Linked DNA regions of Homo sapiens: regions 2, 3, 4, 5 and 6 are each linked to region 1. Evidence: promoter capture Hi-C in human tissues and cell types (Jung and others, 2019). All regions are on one chromosome and are shown on one strand. Each heading gives the region's core, a stretch centred on a gene start or on the middle of the fragment in contact. The rest is flanking DNA. Distances are from core to core; before and after follow the strand shown. Region 1 holds the start of CORO6 (coronin 6). Region 2 holds the start of NSRP1 (nuclear speckle splicing regulatory protein 1). Region 3 overlaps EFCAB5 (EF-hand calcium binding domain 5). Region 4 holds the start of NUFIP2 (nuclear FMR1 interacting protein 2). Region 5 overlaps SSH2 (slingshot protein phosphatase 2). Region 6 has its middle 31 kb from the start of TAOK1.

The links. The method cuts DNA at HindIII sites, captures the fragments that hold promoters and counts their contacts. A contact is called where the count stands out against the background at its distance.
Region 2: the fragment with the promoter of NSRP1 here is called in contact with the fragment with the promoter of CORO6 in region 1 in 3 of the 25 tissues and cell types used here (IMR-90 fibroblasts, dorsolateral prefrontal cortex and hippocampus).
Region 3: a fragment that was not itself captured here is called in contact with the fragment with the promoter of CORO6 in region 1 in 1 of the 25 tissues and cell types used here (lymphoblastoid cells).
Region 4: the fragment with the promoter of NUFIP2 here is called in contact with the fragment with the promoter of CORO6 in region 1 in 1 of the 25 tissues and cell types used here (adrenal gland).
Region 5: a fragment that was not itself captured here is called in contact with the fragment with the promoter of CORO6 in region 1 in 2 of the 25 tissues and cell types used here (dorsolateral prefrontal cortex and pancreas).
Region 6: a fragment that was not itself captured here is called in contact with the fragment with the promoter of CORO6 in region 1 in 1 of the 25 tissues and cell types used here (hippocampus).

The regions. Positions count from the first base shown.
Region 1 is chr17:29,621,174-29,624,372 of GRCh38, forward strand. CORO6 (coronin 6) reads right to left here and starts at 1,739. Exons shown (of 11, transcript NM_032854.4): 1 at 1,515-1,739; 2 at 51-311. The coding sequence starts at 248. RefSeq lists a silencer at 1,403-1,552 and an enhancer at 2,340-3,199. The HindIII fragment of the contact is 11,130 bases long and covers 1-3,199 here.
Region 2 is chr17:30,115,273-30,118,471 of GRCh38, forward strand. It overlaps NSRP1 (nuclear speckle splicing regulatory protein 1), which reads left to right and starts at 1,544. Exons shown (of 7, transcript NM_032141.4): 1 at 1,544-1,591; 2 at 2,808-2,901. The coding sequence starts at 1,572. It overlaps MIR423 (microRNA 423), which reads left to right and starts at 1,807; the gene lies at 1,807-1,900. It overlaps MIR3184 (microRNA 3184), which reads right to left and starts at 1,888; the gene lies at 1,814-1,888. RefSeq lists enhancers at 1,055-2,254, 1,287-1,406, 1,427-1,526, 1,557-1,656 and silencers at 1,369-1,970, 1,907-1,976. The HindIII fragment of the contact is 9,957 bases long and covers 1-3,199 here.
Region 3 is chr17:30,078,304-30,081,502 of GRCh38, forward strand. It overlaps EFCAB5 (EF-hand calcium binding domain 5), which reads left to right. Exons shown (of 23, transcript NM_198529.4): 15 at 1-201; 16 at 1,769-1,938; 17 at 2,450-2,678. Among named protein-coding and RNA genes, the nearest start is that of NSRP1, 37 kb to the right of the region's middle. The HindIII fragment of the contact is 7,904 bases long and covers 1-3,199 here.
Region 4 is chr17:29,292,383-29,295,581 of GRCh38, forward strand. NUFIP2 (nuclear FMR1 interacting protein 2) reads right to left here and starts at 1,766. Exons shown (of 4, transcript NM_020772.3): 1 at 1,401-1,766. The coding sequence starts at 1,677. RefSeq lists silencers at 435-614, 1,245-1,364 and enhancers at 1,071-1,831, 1,525-1,624, 1,935-2,134. The HindIII fragment of the contact is 16,686 bases long and covers 1-3,199 here.
Region 5 is chr17:29,884,306-29,887,504 of GRCh38, forward strand. All of the region lies in intron 1 of SSH2 (slingshot protein phosphatase 2), which reads right to left. Among named protein-coding and RNA genes, the nearest start is that of SSH2, 44 kb to the right of the region's middle. The HindIII fragment of the contact is 5,413 bases long and covers 1-3,199 here.
Region 6 is chr17:29,357,630-29,360,828 of GRCh38, forward strand. No RefSeq gene overlaps it. Among named protein-coding and RNA genes, the nearest start is that of TAOK1, 31 kb to the right of the region's middle. RefSeq lists an enhancer at 221-290. The HindIII fragment of the contact is 4,445 bases long and covers 1-3,199 here.

The DNA of each region.
Region 1 (3,199 bases), core at 489-2,988:
GGGGCCCCAGCTAGTGTCCTCCCACTTGCTTCCTTTCCCTGATCCCTCACCTTGGCCAGAGGCAGGACGATGAAGGCACCCCCGCCTCCAGCCTCCACAATAATGGCCAGGAATTTGGGGTTGACGGCACAGAAGGAGCTGTCCCATGTGACCTTGGACACACGGATGTCCTCGTAGGCCTGGTCGGCCTTTGCTGCCTGCCCAAACACATGGCGGAACTTGCTTTGCCGAACCACACGTCTGCTCATAGCTGCAGGCAGAGAGGTAGGATCTCAGTGCCCAGAAATGCCTTTGGTCCTTAGTCCTGTGAGCTGCGGGAGGGAGGAGGAGTGGAGGGGTGGCTGATGAGAAGGGTTATGTGGTCAGGAGTCAGGTATAAATCCATATAGTGTCTGGTCCTAGAAGCAGGGAGCTTTCTTCAAGGTGGTCAAAGTATGGGAAAGTTATTTTGCTGTGTAAAATGCTGTTTAATGTAAGTGGCTAGGATTTGGGGCCTGAATTCTCCACAGAGACCCAGGCTGAGGGGATTGTGGAGCCTAACAGACTGAAAGCTTTCTGGACGTTGGAATGTTTTTGGGAGGAGCCTCAATGCCACACTGCCTGCACCCCCCGCCCCCACCACCGCCAGCCTTGATGAGCATCTCTTCACGGACGTGGTTGTAGCTCCCAGAGGCACCCTGTCCAGAAGCAGAAGACTTGACCATTGGATCTTGGCTTAAAGCCAGGTATGGGGCCAAGACTGCAGCCACCACAGGATACCGAACTCGCATCTCTGGAATAGTTCAGGCAGATGGGGTTTTGCCTTTTCCTAAAATTTTGCCAAGGGGGAAGTTCCTCCTGTCCACCAATCTGAGTCCTTTCTGCTACTGTTTTCATCCCATGCCTTGTGGGGGGACGGGTGGCAGCACAGAGTGAGGTGGATCCCTCTTCTCCCACTCCTTTCTGCACTGGCTTCTCCAGGAAGCCCTGATCATGGTCTTCTGGCTTTTGCCTACCATAGGCTTGTCCGGTTTCTCCTCTGGGTCCTCTGCCCTGGTTGGGCCTTCTTCCTAGTGAACTCTTCTAGGGGTGGGGTCTTCAACCCCATCCTCCACCCCTGCCCCCGCCACGGCCAAGCCAGATTTGCAGGGGTGGGGAGGGTGAGGTGCCTTTTCTCCAGCTAGGGTCTCCCTAGAGGACACACTGAGCACTCCCAAAGCCCCAGCCAGTGGCTCCTGCCCCACCCCAGCCCCAGCATCCGTGTGCCCTTCAAGGCGCGTCTGCGGCCCCGAGCCTGAGGCCCGGCCTCCCTGCACCCTTCTTCAGCCTGCTGCCCTGACACTGCGTTCTTGCGAGACGAGGTGTCTGCGCCCTCCGGGAGCGCTGGCTGCTGTCCGGCCAAATATAGACACCACGTCCTCCCCGCCCGAAACCGAATTTGGCGGCGCGGGGGGAGGAGGCGCAGACCTCTGCCCCTCAGGGACCCCGCCCGCTCCGCTGGCTGCGGTGACGGCCGGGTGTGGGGGGCTGGGTACCTGGTCCTGAGCGGGCTGCGGGGCGCTCACGCTGCGAATCCTCTGCGGAAGGGGCCCGAGTGCGTAGGGGGCCGAGGAAGGCTTCAGGGCGAAGGAGCCACCTCTCCGGGTGTCTGTAGTATCTGGGACCCGGGTGTCCAGCTCCGCACTCTGGCCGATCCTGCGGCTCTCTAGAGCCCGGCGCCGCTGCAGCCCCAGCTGCCGCTGCCATCAACCTAAGAGGGCGGGGCTAGCATAGGGGCGGGGCCAGAGCCCAAGTTGCCCCGCCCCCTCCAGCGGCGGGAAAGTCGAGCGACCCCGACTCCCCTCCCAGCTTCCGCCGGCCTCGGAGAACCATCGAAAATAAATGTGCAGCTGTGTGCTAGGTGCGCACGCTGCTTCCCTCCCTCCATGACTCCCGGGTAGGCTGGGGAGGCTCGGGTTCGCAGACCTAGAGCAGGACGCTTGGAGAGGGAACGGGCGAGGGGGCGTGCGCCCCTAGAGCGGGCAGCCGAGGGAGACCAGGTGCCTCCACCCGCATTCCAGCCTCAATCGCGCTCCCAATTTAGCTGTCCCGATCGGCCGGGACTGCGGGACTGCACTTCCAGGCCTCCCTGGGGGAAAGAGGCCCTAGAGAATGAGGACCCAGGCTGATCCTGATGTAGGGCAAGTGAGAGGGCACCCGACACAGGGTTGTGAATGTTAGTTATTGTTATGAATGGCAATAGCGATCATTTGAGAAACCTAAAATGCTGGCTGTGTGCTAGGCATTTCACCCCATTAGATGAGATTCCATGGAGCAGGGCAGGAAGCAGCTGAAAGAACAAGGGGAGGACCGAGTGTAAAGTGAACCCACCTTGACACTCCCTCCCCTCCCAGATGCAGGGGGAAGAGGCTAGCACCGGTCTCTAGTCACATTTTAGGGGTCAGAGAAGCCAACTCAGAGGCCAGACTCCTAATGTTTTCTGGGCCTTGTTTGAATTGGCGCCCGACTGTGTTCCAGGTAAGCTTCCCCCGTCTCCCCCAATATTCACAGAACTGAATGTTGACCGAGGTCAAGGAGATTAAAGATAACCTGATCAAAATACAGCCAGTGAAGACCAGCCAGTCCCGTAGCTCCAGTCTACCCAGTGTCTGCACATTGCCTGGATTTCTTCCCTTGGATCATAAGGGCATCTGGGGCCAGTTATTACTTCCCACCCTCCAGGGCACACCTGGGAGTGAGTGAATGGAACACAGCCTTCTGAAGGGCAGGAACCAGCACTGGGGAGGAAAGGGAGGGAAGGTGGTAGAAACCATGAAGGGCCCACGAGGCTCCTTTGTTTCTCAGGAAGAGTCCAGGTGGCTTGTAGGGACAGAATCAAATCAAGAGTCAGTGGCTTGTAGGGGAACAGAATAAAAAACTGTTACGAGTGCTCCAGAAATAACTCCTGGCGTAGGGGTGCTGGGGCAGGGTATGAGGGTATGTGAGTCATCTCTCTTTTACCTAAAGATTCCAGGCACATGATTAGGAGGAAAATACCTGAGTGACTCAGTTGCTCCTTTACAACAATAACCCATGCTTATGTGCTAGGCACTGGCACTAAGGGCTTTATACGTATTAATTTCATACTCTTAACAATCCTCTAGGCTGGTCGCGGGTGGCTAACGCCTGTAATCCCAGCACTTTGGGAGGCTGAGGCAGGTGGATCACCTGAGGTCAGGAG
Region 2 (3,199 bases), core at 294-2,793, 490 kb after region 1:
ATGGGTTGAAAAAGATACACTATGCTAGCATTAATCAAAAGAAAGCTAGTTATATTGATAGCAGACCAAGCAGACAAAGAAGAATAAAGGAATAAAGAGGGCCACTTCTTAATGCTATAGAGGTTAGTAGAGGTTAATGCAAGAGAACGTAACAATCCTAAATGTTTACATACCTAATTTCAAAATACACGACACAAACTGATAGAATTGAAAGGAGAAGCAAATTCGCAATTATAGTTGGAGATTTCAACATCCTTATCTCAGTAATTGATCTCTTTGGCTGCTCTGAGACTAGCTGGGAATGAACCAAGAGTGAATGAGTGCACAGATGTGGGCAGAGTTTTCAAAAAGGTATCATATATGGGCCAGGCACGGTGGCTCACGCCTGTAATCCCAGCACTTTGGGAGGCTGAGGCGGGTGGGTCACATGAGGTCAGGAGTTTGAGACCAGCCTGGCCAACATGGTGAAACCCCGCCTCTACTAAAAAAATACAAAAATTAGCCAGGCATGGTGGCGGACGCCTGTAATCTCAGCTACTCAGGAGGCTGAGGCAGGAGAATCGCCTGAACCTGGGAGGCGGAGGTTGCAGTGAGCCAAGATTATGCCACTGCACTCCAGCCTGGGCGACAAGAGCGAGACTACGTCTCAAAAAAAAAAAAAAAAAAAAAAAAGTATCATATATGATCCTGATTCCTATACCCAATGGCCCGTGAACAGTATTATTAATAATTTTGGTCCTTGGGCCGGGCGCGGTGGCTCATGCCTGTAATCCCAGCAATTTGGGAGGCCGAGTCGGGCGGATCACCCGAGGTCGGGAGTTCGAGACCAGCCTGACCAACATGGAGAAACCCCGTCTCTACTAAAAATACAAACTTAGCCGGGCGTGGTGGCACATGCCTGTAATCCCAGCTACTCGGGAGGCTGAGGCAGGAGAATCGCTTGAACCCGGGAGGCGGAGGTTGAGGTAACCGAGTTCGCGCCTTTGCACTCTAGCCTGGGCAACAAGAGCGAAACTCCGTCTCAAAAAAAAAATTTTTTTTTTAATAATAATTTTGGTCCTATGTAAGGTATTATTAATACACAGATTTTCATTTTTCGCCTAATTATCCTGAACCAGTTAAAGTGAACACTTGGAAGGGGGTAGGGGGAATATCGATAGCCATGGCAGTGGTTTTCAAACTTTATCAGAATTACCCGCTGGTTAAAATTCAGATAACTCGCTTCACTCCAAAGTTTCTGATTCTGCAGGTTTGGGGTAGGGCCCGAGAATTTGTCATTTTAACAGTATCTCCGGTGTTGCTGATGCCGCTGGTCCCAGAACCACACACTGCGAACAACTGGCCTAGAACGTTGTCATTCCTTTCTCCTACAGATTTTGAGGCAGCCGGTGGGCTCCGAAACAAAACAGAGGTCACTGGATCCGATTCCCAGTACCATAGAAGTGACTCAAACCAGCGATTCAACCGACAAGCAGGATCCGGGCCACCCAAAGCCGCGCGAGAGTTTACGTGACGACATCGGCGTCAGCGTCACGGAGGCGTCGGCCACGTTCAGCGGACACGGGAGCAAGATGGCGATTCCGGGCAGGCAGTGAGTGATCCGGGAGTTAGGGTCAGGCTGGGGGATGAGAAACTACGGCGACTGTATCTTTGGCCGAGGAGTTTTAAATGCGCTGGAAGTGAAGGGACTGTGTCGTCAAGGGTAGAGACGGGAAAAAACGAGAAGTCCTGAGGAACATAGATTCCCCTCCCCCGTACATTTTCCCGGATGGAAGCCCGAAGTTTGAGGGAGAAACTTGTGAGGAAATAAAGGAAGTTAGGCTGAGGGGCAGAGAGCGAGACTTTTCTATTTTCCAAAAGCTCGGTCTGAGGCCCCTCAGTCTTGCTTCCTAACCCGCGCTTGAGTTTCTCCCCGCTTGGATGCTCTCAGGGGCAGTGTGAAGAGAGACAGTTCCTGGCTTCCTTAGAGGGCCTTGTTCTCCTTGGCAGAAGCTCAAGTCCTGATTCCCGCCCTTCCTTCTCGTTTTAGGAATATTGTTCTGAGAAGCCACAGAAAAAGGGTAGGCATATAGGAAATTGGGGTATACGTTGCCGCAAAAGAGACAAATACTGTACGTACTTGAAAGTTTTACCTTTGATGTGTAATCCTTACTTTTGATGCGGCCTCCCGTGATCTCCGCATCTTAAAGGCCAAAACGTGAGAAACTAAAGGAGTTGGATCTGATGGGATGGTTCTCTCAGATGCTCCGAGGCAAAGCACATGATCTTAATAAAGTGTAATGCGAACTTGCCCCATGGCTACTTGGGTTTCTCAGTTATCTTTTAAAAATTTTCGTGAGTTACACTATCCAGTCAGTTCTTAGAAACTGTGTAAGTACACAGTAGGAAAAAAAATCTAGCCATTTTCTTGACTGTTTAGACCACAAGGATAGTTGAAAGCATTTTAAAATCTTTAGTGGACATGAACTAAACTTTCCACTACACATGTTTTTTTTTTTTTTTTTTAAATGTTACTGTCACTTCGCCATCTTAAAACATTTCTGAACTTTTCATTTACTTCTCTTCTTTGATAAAAATGGTATTCGAGTTTGGCCCGTGTCCACAAATGATCACTTAGAGTAGTAATTATAGAATCTTACGGCATGTTAGAATTTTGAGATCACTGAGAAGCAAAAACAGTCTGTTACGTGTTCATAAAGCTTATGACATGTTTTGATTTGGTAGCTTCATGTGGAAGAGGTAGTAGATGTATTTGTTAACATTTAAACATAAAGGTTTAATTTCTATTTCAAAAAAAATATATGCAGGTATGGGCTTATTTTGCCAAAGAAAACACAGCAGTTGCACCCTGTTTTGCAAAAACCATCAGTGTTTGGGAATGATTCTGATGATGATGATGAGGTAAGGAAACCTATGTTTTACTCGTGCATGGTTGGAAATGTAAATTTTTTAAAAATTGAACTTGTGACTCTGATACCTTTGCCTTTGTTATTTGTCAGTACAGTGGAGTATAATTTACAGAATTGTCAAAAAGGAAGGTGTAAAGAAAGCAGCTCCACCGATTTTTTAAAGATTTTTTTCCCTCTAAAAGCTGCAAACTTTACCTTTAAACAAATACACGGTCTTTTCAGACTACTGAAATTGTCATAACAAAATTGTTGGTGTAAAGATCCCTAGGTATGAGTTATTAAGATGTCAC
Region 3 (3,199 bases), core at 253-2,752, 460 kb after region 1:
GTGTCTGAACTCAGGGGCAATGAAGACCAAGTTCTGGAAAGTGTTGTGGAATTTCTGATGAATGCTTTAGAGAGGAGCCACATTGAGAGTCTGAGGAATTCTGCCAGGCGGAAATGGCTGCACCAAATCCAATGTGCTGCAGAGACAAGTGGGGTGTCCCTAGAGCCGGTGTATAGTGAGACCTTTAAGGCCCTCATGCAGGTACGTTTCCTAAAGCAGTATGTAAGAGGAAACATTTCCTCAAAGTAGGCGATGTTCAATGTTTGCAAAAGAGGAGCATCTTGAATTCTCTTGAAAAATCACTGGGTGCTGCTGTAGATATTTTATTCATTCCAGTCCATTACAAATGGCCCAAAGCCTAGGAGAGATACAACTGGAGTGACTGCTGGTTGACAAGATAGAAGCAGAGGAGAAAGGTAGAAAAGACAGATGTAGAAAAGATGTCTTGGGATTTCTAATTTCATTTCTGCTAAGAGTCAAATAAGCCTAGAATGGACAATAGACAGATTATGAACAATATCAGTAAGGAGATGTACAAGCAGTTCAAGCTACATTTCCCTTGCATGGTATTTTGGGAGTCAGTTTTAAAAGGAACTATTTAAATCATAAACTCATTATCGAGTCTGACACCACACAATATTTCACAGCATTGCCTAGAAGCAAGCTGAGACTACTGCAGAATCCTGTCACTTAGAACGCATGGCCCTGAGGGGCTACTGCCTACAGCCTTGCCACCTCCTCAGAGACTCCCAGGTTGCTGCTATTCACAGGCAGAAACAGCACAGCCGCCTTCTACATGTATCATAGATTCCACTAATCCAGGGAACCTATGCCAGTCATCTCAGCTAAATAGCGATACTTGCTCAATTGAATCATCTCCTGAATGGCCGAATTTTCCAGTGTAGTTGGAAATGGGGCACCGGGACCAAAAGACCACTCAAGAAGAAGAGGCATTGTTCTAACTTGCTTCAGAGGTCTGTGGTATCCTAAGAGAAATCTCGCTACATATTTGTTAATGACTCCATAGATCTTGTATGTGGAAAGAAGGAATAAAGGCAAAAGAAAAGGGCATGGAAAGCAAACCCAAATATATAGAAAGAGGAGAAAAATATCAAGGAAAGTGTCTCACATGTCCCCAATTTATGGATATGTTTAATGTATATATTGACACATAATATTGTTAATAACATAATAATAATATTTAAGGTACAGAGAATTTATAGTTGCAGAAATAGTAGTTGCAGAAAGTCTGCAATCTTGGGCCACAAAAAAATCCTTCCTGAAATTACATAGATCAAATATACAAAGTGTGTTAAGAGTTCCTCGAGAGCATTTTTTTTCACTTTCACATCACAGTCGACGGTCAAGAAATATGAGTGAAGTGAAGGCAACTTCTTGGCCCAGCTCTCTCTCTCTCAAATCAACACTTTCAATAGAAACACAGACAGTTGACCATAGGTCAAAGGAATCCAAGTTTTAAACCTCTAAATTTGAGTAGACTTGAGAGTTTTTTGGTTTTGTTTTTCTTTTCTGGTAAACCAGTCCAGTTGGCATAGAAGAAACCCGTTATACCCACTGAAACTCAGACTTACAGGATAGCTATGCTGTCAACCTTTTCCCCACTGCCCATGAATAGTAATATATGCATTCTTTATTCAGGAAAATGAAACTACTGGGGCAAGATGCATGAATTAACTAGTAAGGGGGACATGATTAGGGGAGTTCTTTGGCTGTTGGCAAACACATGGTCGGAAACGTTTTGCTGTAGGATGCTGAAGCCCATGGAAATAAAAAGATCAGTGCTCACATTTCCCTCTTAGAAGAAAACCTACTACTGCCTGAGAAAGGGAATGTTCTATTGAGGAATGTGGCTTGTACCTTAGATGATGCTCAATTTGTACTGAACAGAGTGCTCTACAGGGACATGAAAGGAATCAGGTAAGAACTTCTTGAAGAGATTGGTTTCACCCTCCTAAAAAAATAATTCCCTTTCTGAGTAAACTGGCATCAAGATCCCAGCTAGCTGCTCAAAAGAGAGGTGCCTCAAGTCACCAGTGCTTCTGGAGTAGAAGCTGATGGCTTCCAGTCCTGGATGATTTCACTTATTTCTAGAGCTCGCTCTTTGGTAATGATTCGCCACATGGGGACTCTGCGTCACAATATCATCTCAATTATTTCTGCCTGCTCCATAAGTTATGTCTCTGGAGTTCTGTTTATATTTGTTTTCTATGTCCACATCCAAGCTTGTTTTTTTTTTTTTTGTTTGTTTGTTTTGTTTTTGTTTTAGTCTTTCTCAAGTCAGACCTCCAAACTGGTCATCTTATCTGAGTCCACTGCTCGGTCATATAATGCCACAGATTGTGAATAGAGAATCGCTCTAGTTTCCTCCATGGTTTAATCTAAATCTCTCCCTGTGCCTTTCTTCCATCCTCATACTCTTTTTCCTCAGCTTTACAGTAGTGGATGAAGGGAAGCCAATCCATGTTCCCCAAGTTCAGTACCATGGGAACATCTTCTTCTGGAACCAGTCCCGTAATAAGCATGATTATAATGGTTCATTCCTGGCTCTGCCTCTTCAAGATGCATATATGAGGATCTTTGGGGTCTTGGCTGTTGATACCCTTAGAGATCCCCACGAAATAAACATCTTTCTACCTCATGAGATCAGATTCTATCAGGTAAGTCATAGAAGTCTTCAAGAGCGATGGTAGGATGGCCTCTCTTTCTAATACTTTTTAAAGAGTGAAACCTGAAATCCGATGAGAGTAAAGCTGTGTATACAGATAACATCATCATACTTGCTCCTGTTCCCTGAATGTATGTTTCAGTCTTTTGAGAAGTTCCCCATTACTTATGGAAGGACTTTCAGCCTCAGTTACATATCCATGCCTCAGCCTCATGTGTCCCATAGCATTAATCACAGGAATAGAATTTTATGCTACAGAACAGAAATCCAACCATTGACCATTAAGACCCACAAAGCGGGAATGAACTTTTAGAAGGGACGTATTTGTGTTTTACTAACAGTGGTATCTATCTAGAAATCTTTTGTACTTTCTACAAATGGTACTAATTCTGATATGCATCCCCATAGGTCTTGATTTCAGTGTTATAATTTTTGAGGATGAAAAATAAAGAAAAAGGCCTAAATGTTTCTTGGGTATTCATGTTTTTAAATTAGATCACAAAATGATAGGCA
Region 4 (3,199 bases), core at 516-3,015, 330 kb before region 1:
AGGGGAATGGAACAAGGTTTTTGGATTTTTTTTTTTTTTTTGTAGAAAATGAGCTGCTAGAAGGAAAAGGCCCAAGTGAAAGCCTCAGAGGCGGAGTCGTGAGCGAACCTGGCAGGAGACGAGGTTCCTGTGGCAGAGAAACTCGTGACCGGGGAGCTGGGTTCCCGCTGGGTACCCCACCCGGCCTCAGGCACCGCCTCTACCCGAAATGAATCCCCCCGCCGCCCCCCCAGGCCTCCTGCCTCTAGGAGCGCCGCGGCCGCCGCCCGCGGCCTCCTTCCCTCTCAGCTCCGCTTCGAGGCCGGCTCCCCGCCCCGACTGCCCGCGCCTCCCGCCGCACCCGGGAGCGGGAAACGCGGCCGCTGGCGCGCGGGGCCCTGCGCAGGCCGCTCCCCTCGTGGCCGCTTCCCTCCCCCACCCCAACCGCCCCCGCCCCTCACCCCAGGGACCCGCCCGGGGCCGCGCGCCGCCACCGGGTTACACAACCCCGGCCGGCGACGGGGGGGGGGGCGGCCGCGGTGCGGGGGGCGCCGGCGCCCCCGCAGTGCAGGGGGCGAGGCTGCGGCCGGTGGTGATCCCGGGTCACCCGGCTCCGCCGCCCCGTGTGGCCCTCGACACCCTTCCCCCTCCGCTCCTCAGTGGGCCGGAGTCGGTGACAGGAATCGGCTTCCAACATGGCGGACAGGAAGCGGCCCCGCGAGGAGGAGAGAACATTCCAGCCGCGCCGGCTCTGGGGGGAGCGGGCGCGGGGCGCCGGCCTCGGGAGGAGCCGCGGGACAAGACTGCGGGGTCCGGCGCCCAAAAAGGGCGTTTAGTGGTGGAAATGACCCGTGAGATGAGGGGTCCCAACAGCCCCCCCCACCGAGACGGGGAGCCCCAAGGCCACAGGTGGGCTTGGGGTGGCGGGTGAGGGGCACTTCCTCAACTCACCCTACCTACCCACTCCTCGCCGCCTGCAAAAGGGTCTCGCGACACCATCCGAGTCGGGATTCGCTAGGCCTTCCTGAGTTACACCTCGAGGGATTTTTTGGGGGGGTAGGTTTACCCCATCTCAGGGCCCCCAAATTGAGGTAACTCCAGGGACGCAGGGAGGTGAATGGGAAAAGAATAATGAGGTTGGACTTGCAAGGCCGACCCAGCAGGTCTCCCTTCAGCCGGGGCCGGGGCCAGGAAGGTCACGCTGGCCTGGCTGGGCCTCTCCCATGCTGGAGGGAAGGAGAGGGCGCTGCAAACCCCATTGCTCAGCCCGAGCTCTAGAATGAAAGGGGCATCCCCAGAGCCGGAGGGGACACACACACACACACCCCGACCCCGTCCGCGCTTTTCGGATCCAGCCCCACCCCCATCTCTCCTGTCCTCCACCCCCAACCCCCTTCCCCCACCCGTCCTCCCTCCCAGACCTGTTTTCTTCTTCGGCGTTTCCTGGTGCTGCTGGAGGGTGTGTTTCTGCTCATGTTTCAGCGGCTTTGGCTGGGCCTTGGGGCTGCCCTCGGCTCCATGCTGCAGGTATTGGTGAGGCTGCTGGTGATGATGGTGGTGGTGGTGGTTGTGGCTGTGGTTGTAGAAATAATAATGGTGGTGGTGGTGCGGCTGCTGCTGCTGCTGCTGAGGGTGATGGTGCGGATGGTGGTGGCTGTGATGGTGCTGAGGCTGTGGCTGGCCGGGCTTCTCCTCCATTGAAAGCGGCTGGGACTCCCTGGCTGAGGCTGCGGGCTGCTGCACCGTCAGGATCTGAGACTGCTTCTCAGGGCTCACTCAGTATATCTGAGCGCGTCTCGCCAGCGCACTGGTTAACCGAGCGATTCTGCGAGATTGGCAGCCGCACTCCAACAATCAGGAGCCACGCTGTGCCGCAAGCCCCGCCCCCAGCTCAAATCCTCTTTCCTTCCCCTTCGCCGCTGCCGCCTGGCCAACGCCACTTACCCTGTGCAACCTCACAGGGCCGGGCCTTCAACGTCAGCACTATGGCTCTCTCTTCTGTCGCTTTCTCTCCTTCACCACGCAGTCTGTGAACAGCACTTTCTACACTCCTCGCCGGCAAGCAGGCTCGTGTCGAGGGTAGCAGATTCCACTGGCGATTCCACTGGTGCTGTGAGCCATCTGCTGGCTTTGCACCTCTTAGAATCTGGTGTTTTTTTGTTTTTTGTTTTGTTTTGTTTTTAATCCTTTTCCGGGTAACCAGAAAGGGAAGCTCAATTCCCTTAACCCCGAGACCACTAAAGGGGCAATACAAAAAGAGGAAATAAATACATTTTTAAGCATACAAGAGCTTCACAATCCAGTAGATCATTTTGTATTCTGGATTCATTTTGCTTTGTATTCATATGCTAATCTCTTCCTTTCCACGAAGGGATTATAGGGTTCCACAATGGGGTATCTGTGTAATTTTCTAAAAGGGCACAAAGGGTTTAAATCATTGTTTCTTTGTAGTTGGAGGCAAGGGAGAGCAGGAGGAATGAAAATTTACACTGAAGGTTTTTTTTTTTTTAATTAAACTCTGCAGGTGAGGTCAACTGTGGAACCAAAATAGGTTTTAGAATGAGAAGTTTCAAGAGCAAAGGAAGGGGAGAAAGAGCACTTAAAAGTTATTAAGTGGGTTTGTTTTTTTTTTTTTTGGCACTTATGGAAAAATTGAAATTAAAAGAAATATTCTGTAGCGTTTTGTAGTGTAGATTTAACTTATCCTGCATTACCACATCACAGTATATGATTTTCAAAAGCAAATGTTAGAGCCATGATAGTGGTTACTCAGGAAGGAAGAGGGTTGTGATGGGGAGGGACACAGGTTACTCTGATAATATTTCATTTTGGGGGCTAGGTGGTGATTACATATATTTGCTTAGTAATTATTTGTTAAACTGAATATACAGATAAAATGCACTTTTCCCAATGTATGTTATAGATTGGGGGATTTTTTTAATTGTAAAATATTCATAATATAAAATTTACCATCTTAATATTAAGTGTATGGTTCAGGTGCATTAGGTACATTCGTATTGTTGTAGAACCATGACCATCATCTATCTCCAGAACTTTTTCATCATTCCAAACTGAAACTTCATACCCAATAAAAATAAATGTCCTTTCCCTCCTCCTTCCATCCCTTGATAACCACTGTTCTGTTTTCTGTCTCTACGAACTTGACTATTCTAGGTACCTCATATAAGTGGGATTGTACTGTATTTGTCTTTTTGTGACT
Region 5 (3,199 bases), core at 490-2,989, 260 kb after region 1:
AAACTTTTGGCACACTATTTTCTACTGGTCTTCCACAAATTGCTTTCTGATTGCTCCTTTCAGTCTGTCAAATTCTCCTTTTCTACTTTTACCCCTTACATATGGGGGCTTTCAGGGTTCTGTCCTTGGCATCTATCTCCATGGGCATTCCTTGAGTGATGTCATCTCTCTCACAGCTTCAAGAGACTACAAACATTACTTTAGGATATTTTCATCACTGGTCTTCTTGGATATCTTACTGCCTAATTGGAACATGTTTGCTAACATATTCCACAGGATTACATACCTCAGCTGGTCCGCAACTGAACTCATCTTCCCACTAAAGCTTTACTTCTTGTACTTTTGTTAATATCATCTGCCATCTACTCAGCCCAACCAAGCTCAAAGTCTTCAAGAGTTAACCAGTCTTCTATCTTTATTTCACCTCATAATCCATCATCAGGCCTCTACCACTTCACTTTTTATATATTTCTGTAATCTATCTCATCCTGTCTATCCCAACCACAACTGCCTTAGTTTGAGTCTATGTTAGTTCCAGGACTTGGCAACTGCAACAATCCACTCTAAATTGTAACTCTGACCTTACATCTCTACATAAAACTTTTATGTTCCTCACTGCCAAAAGCAGTATTTTTTGTGTCAGGGTTACCTGTGGATGCTTGTAAAGATGCATATTCCTGGGTCAATCTGCATTTTTACATATTTTTCAACTTATTCTGATGCAATGTAAAGCCTGAGTACGGGCTAAAGTTTAAGTTTAAATTTCTTACCAAGGCATAAAAAGCCTCCAAGGTCTTGGCTCTTGCCTACTTAGTTCTCTAATCTAGCACCTCCCTTTTTCTCCCATCACGTGCTTTATTATCTAGAGTACTGAATTCATTTACACTTATCCAAGTGTCTCTGGCTTCCATGCTTTTGCTGTTCCTCTTTCTTCTCACCAAGTCTTATGCAACCTATTGCATATTATGCTTTTTTTCTATCAAGCAGGTACTAACTTTTAACTCTTATTAACCAAAGACTGGGGTTTCTTGCTATTGTATCATAAAAAAAAAAAAAAAAAAAAAAATCAGGTCTTTTTCCCCAGTTCCTGACACAGAGCTCCTAAAACCCTTGGAATTTCCTGAGTGACACGAGTGATAGAAGCATCTTTAGTTTTAAGGAAGTGTCTCTTGGCTGGCCCCTAGATAGCTTTAGGATGGGAGCTAGTCACCAGAAACACCAATCCTTGATTAGAAGCTTGTAATTTTCAGCTCCATCACATAACCAGGGAAGGAGTGGAGATTGAGTCAGTTACCAATGACCAATGATTTAATCAATAATGCTTACTGATATGGTTTGGGTATGTACCCACCTAAATCTCATCTTGAATTGTAGCTCCCATAATTCCCACATGTGATGGGAGGGAGCCAGTGGGAGGTAATTGAATCATGGAGGCTGGTTTTTCCTGTGCTGTTCTGGTGATAGCAAGTCTCACGAGATCTGATGGTTTTATAAAGTGGATTTCCCCTGCACATGGCTCTCTTGCCTGCCGCCATGTAAGATGTCCTTTTGCTCTTCCTTATTCTTCCACCATGATTGTGAGGCCTCCCCAGCCATGTGGAACTGTGAGTCCATTAAAACTCTTTCCTTTATAAATTACCCAGTCTCAGGTATGTCTTTATTAGCAGCGTGAGAACAGACTAATACAGTAAATAGGTACCAGGTAGTGGGGCACTGCTATAAAGATACCCGAAAATGTGGAAGCAACTTTGGAACTGAGTAGCAGGCAGAGGTTGGAACAGTTTCGAGGACCCGGAAGAAGACAGAAAAATGTGGGAAAGTTTGGAACTTCCTAGAAACTTGGAGGGCTCAGAAGACAGGAAGATATGGGAAAGTTTGTAACTTCCTAGAGACTTGTTGAATGGCTTTGACCAAAATGCTCATAGCGATATGGACAATAAGGTCCAGGCTGAGGTGGTCTCAGATGGAGATAAGGAACTTGGGAACTGGAGCAAAGGTGACTCTTGCTATGTTTTAGCAAAGAGACTGGTGGCATTTTGCCCCTGCCATAGAGTTCTGTGGAACTTTGAACTTGAGAGAGATGATTTAGGTATCTGGTGGAAGAAATTTCTAAGTGGCAAAGTGTTCAAGAAGAAGCAGCGCATAAAAGTTTGGAAAATGGCCGGGTGTCGTGGCTCACACCTGTAATCCCAGCACTTTGGGAGGCTGAGGTGGATGGACCACCTGAGGTCAGGAGTTTGGGACCAGCCTGACCAATATGGTGAAACTCTGTCTCTACTAAAAATACAAAAATTAGTCAGGCATGGTAGCGTGCACCTGTAGTCCCAACTACTCGGGAGGCTGAGACAGGAGAATTGCTTGAACCCAGGCGGTGGAGGTTGCAGTGAGCCAAGATCATGCCACTGCACTCCAGCCTGGGCGACAGAGAAAGACTCCATCTCAAAAAAAAAAAAAAAAAAAGTTTGAAAAATTTGCAGACTGATGATGTGATAGAAAATAACCCATTTTCTGGGGAGAAATTCAAGCCTGCTGAAGAAGTTGCATAAGTAACAAGGGGCTGAATGTTAATCACCAATTATAGCGCTCCTTCAACTTCTATTACACAGTTCTGAAGACACTTTACCAAGAGTATGTGGTATCCTTAAGTGCTAAAGCTGGACAGGACCTTAGAGATTAAAGATTTTTTTCTCGGATAAGAAAACCAGGACTAGAAAGATGAAAAGATTGACCAGAGCCAGAGTTAAGTGGTAGCAAAGCCAGATGAATGGCTCTCCTATCGAGCCAATGTAATTTCTTCAACATCATGCAGCTTATACTACTTTGGGGCCACCTATCTTATTTAATTATATGCCTATAGAGGATATTTTGTTAACAACTTAATACTTGAGATCAGTAGTAGTGTTATAAAAGCAAGCTATTAGCATAGAACACAATAAAAAAAAATCTTGGAGCAGGCATAGAAATTTTTGTACATCTTAGATATTATAACTACGAAATTATTTAGTGAGGATCAATAGAGGATAAACTTGAGCTTTAGTAAGAATAAACAAAAACAAAACAGAGTACTTTAGGTGTATTTCCTAGGTCCTATTTCCTAGACCCATCAAAAATGACATGGAATTCAAGACTGGAGTTTAAGACAAGAAGGGTAAGGCAGGCCAATCTTTGGTACGTGCTTTCAAGACAAGGGTCTCTGAAG
Region 6 (3,199 bases), core at 279-2,778, 260 kb before region 1:
ATTTATAGAGTTGTGCAACTATCACCACAATTCAGTTTTTAGAATATTTTCCTCACCCCAAAAAGTTCCCTTGTGCTCATTTGCAGTCAATTCCTGCTCCCAACCCTAGCCCCAGACAACTACTAATCAGCTTTCTGTCTCTATAGAGTTGCCTTTTGTGGAACTTACATAAATGGAATCCTACATTGCATGTAAATAGAATCTTTGTGTCTGGCTTTTTTCATTTAGCATGATGTTTTTGAAGTTCATCCATGTTGTATAGTGTGTCAGTCATTCATTCCTTCTTATGGCTGAACAATATTCTGTTGTACAAATATACTGTGTTTTGTTCCATTCACCATTTGGGTCGTTTCCACTTTTTGGCTATTATGAATAATGCTGTTGTGAACATTCACATACAAGCTTCTGTGTGGTCATATATTTTCATTTCTCTTGAGCAGTACCTAGGAGTGAAATTGCTGAGTCATAGAGTAAGTTTATGTTGAACTTTTTTTTTTTTCGAGATGGAGTCTCACTCTATCGCCCAGGCTAGAGTGCAGTGGCGCAATCTCGGCTCACTGCAACCTCTGCCTCCTGGGTTCAAGCAATTCTCCTGCCTCAGCCTCCCAAGTAGCTGGGACTACAGGTGCGTGCCACCGGGCCCGGCTAATTTTTTGTATTTTTAGTAGAGATGGGATTTCACTGTGTTAGCCAGGATGGTCTCGATCTCCTGACCTCGTGATCTGCCCGCCTCAGCCTCCCAAAGTGCTGGGATTAGAGGCTTGAGCCACCACTCCTGGCCTATGTTGAACTTTTAAAGAAACTCCAAAACTATTTTCCAAAGTGGCAGTATCATTTTATATTCCCACTAACAATGCATGAAGGTTCTAATTTCTCCATAACCTCATACACATTTGGCATTGTCGGTCTTTTTAATTATAACCATTCTAGTGAATGTGAAGTGGTATCTCTGTGGTTTCAGTTGGCATTTCCCTAATGACTAATGCTGTTGAATATCTTCTACTACATTTGTTAGCCATCCATATATCTTCTTTGGTGAGAACTCATGACTACAAAGTAAATGCCACTCAACCAATGTTTCCCAAACATGCCATACACATTCTTGCCTCTCTGCTTTTTATTTATTTATTTTTTTGAGACAGGGTCTCCCTGTATCACCCAGGCTGGAGTGCTGTGGTGCCATCACAGCTCACCGCAGCCTCAACCTCCTCGAGCAATCCTCCCACCTCAGACTCCCAAGTAGCTGGGACTCCAGGTGCCCGCCATCAAGGCTGGCTAATTTTTGTGTTTTTTGTAGAGACGGGGTTTCACCATGTTGCCCAGGCTGGTTTAAACTCCTAAGCTCAGGCAAACTGCCTGCCTTGGCCTCCCAAAAGGAGACCTCCCAAAGTGCTGAGATTACAGACATGAGCCGTCGTGCCTGGCCACCTCTCTGCTTTTAAGTATACTCTTCTTCTAATCTAAAATGCCCTGTTATTTTATGATCCAAATTTACCATTTCAAAAAATTTATCGGCCAGGCATGGTGGCTCATGCCTGTAATCCCAGCGCTTTAGAAGCCCAAGATGGGTGGATCACCTGAGGTCAGGAGTTCAAGACCAGCCTGGCCAACATGGTGAAACCCCGTCTGTATTAAAAATACAAAAAATTAGCCAGGAGTGGTGGCGCATGCCTGTAATCCCAGCTACTCGGGAGGCTGAGACAGGAGAATTGCTTGAACCCAGGAGGCAGAGGTTGCAGTGAGCTGAGATCGTGCCATTGCACTCCAGCCTGGGTGACAGAGCGAGACTTCCTCTCAAAAAAAAAAAAAAAAAAAAAAAAAAAATATATATATATATATATATAAACTAGCCAGGCGAGGTGGTGGGCGTCTATAATCCCAGCTACTCAAGAGGCTGAGGCAGGAGAATCATTTGAACCCAGGAGGCAGAGGTTGCAGTGAGCTGAGATCACTCCACTGCACTCCAGCCTGGGCAACAGAGTGAAACTGTCTCAAAAAAAAAAAAAAAGTAAGGCCAGGCGCGGTGGCTCATGCCTGTAATCCCAGCACTTTGGGAGGCCGAGGTGGACAAATCACCGGAGGTCAGGAGTTCATGACGAGGTGGCCAACATGGTGAAACCCCGTCTCTACAAAAATACAAAAATTAGCTGTGTGTAATCCCAGTTACTAGGGAGGCTGAGGTGGGAGAACTGCTTGAACCTGGGAGGCAGAGGCTGCAGTGAGCCGAGATCGTGCCACTGTACTCCAGCCTGGGCAACAGAGCGAGACTGTCTCAAAAAAAAAAAAAATTACCCACAGATTCTCATCTCCTGTAAGAGTAATGTTGGTCCAACCCTTTACACTTCCTATCTGTCACAGTATTCTCATACAGCAATAAGACAATAAATGTTAAGTTTATGAATGGACTTTGACCTGGTTAAAACATACAAATTCTATTCCATTTCTGAGCAGAACAGATCCTCAATATATATTTCTTGAAAATGGGTACTATAGAAGATACAAAGACAAATAAAGCAAAATAAAATATAAAAATGTTTTATTGGCTGGGTGCGGTGGCTTATGCCTGTAATCCCAGCACTTCAGGAGGCTGAGGTGGGTGGATCACAAGGTCAGGAGTTCAAAACCAGCCTGGCCAAGATGGTGAAACCCTGTCTCTGCTAAAACTACAAAAATTAGCCAGGCATGGTGGCAGGTGCCTGTAACCTAGCTACTTGGGAGGCTGAGGCAGGAGAATCGTTTGAACCTGGGCGGCAGAGGTTGCAGTGAGCCAAGATCGCGCCACTGCACTCCAGCCTGGGTGACAGAGCGAGACTCTGTCTCAAAAAAAAAAAAAGTTTTATCATCTAATACGATGCACAGATATGGGTCCTGCTGTGGTTTGAATGTGTTCCCCAAGGAATACATGTTGGAAACAATCCCCAACGCCAACAGTGTTGGGAGGTAGGGCCTAATGGGAGGTGTTTAGGTCATGAGGATGGAGCCCTCATGAATGTGTTAATATAATATCCAATTAAAAAGGGCTTAAGGCTGTGAGTTCTATGGCCTGCACTCACCCTTTGCCTTTCACCTGCCAAGGGATGACACAGAAAGAAGGCCCTCATCAGATGTGGGTCCCTAGAACTTAACCTTCCCAGCCTCCAGAAATAAATTTCTTTTCTTTGTAAATTACCCACTCTGTGGTATTCTGTTATAACAACAC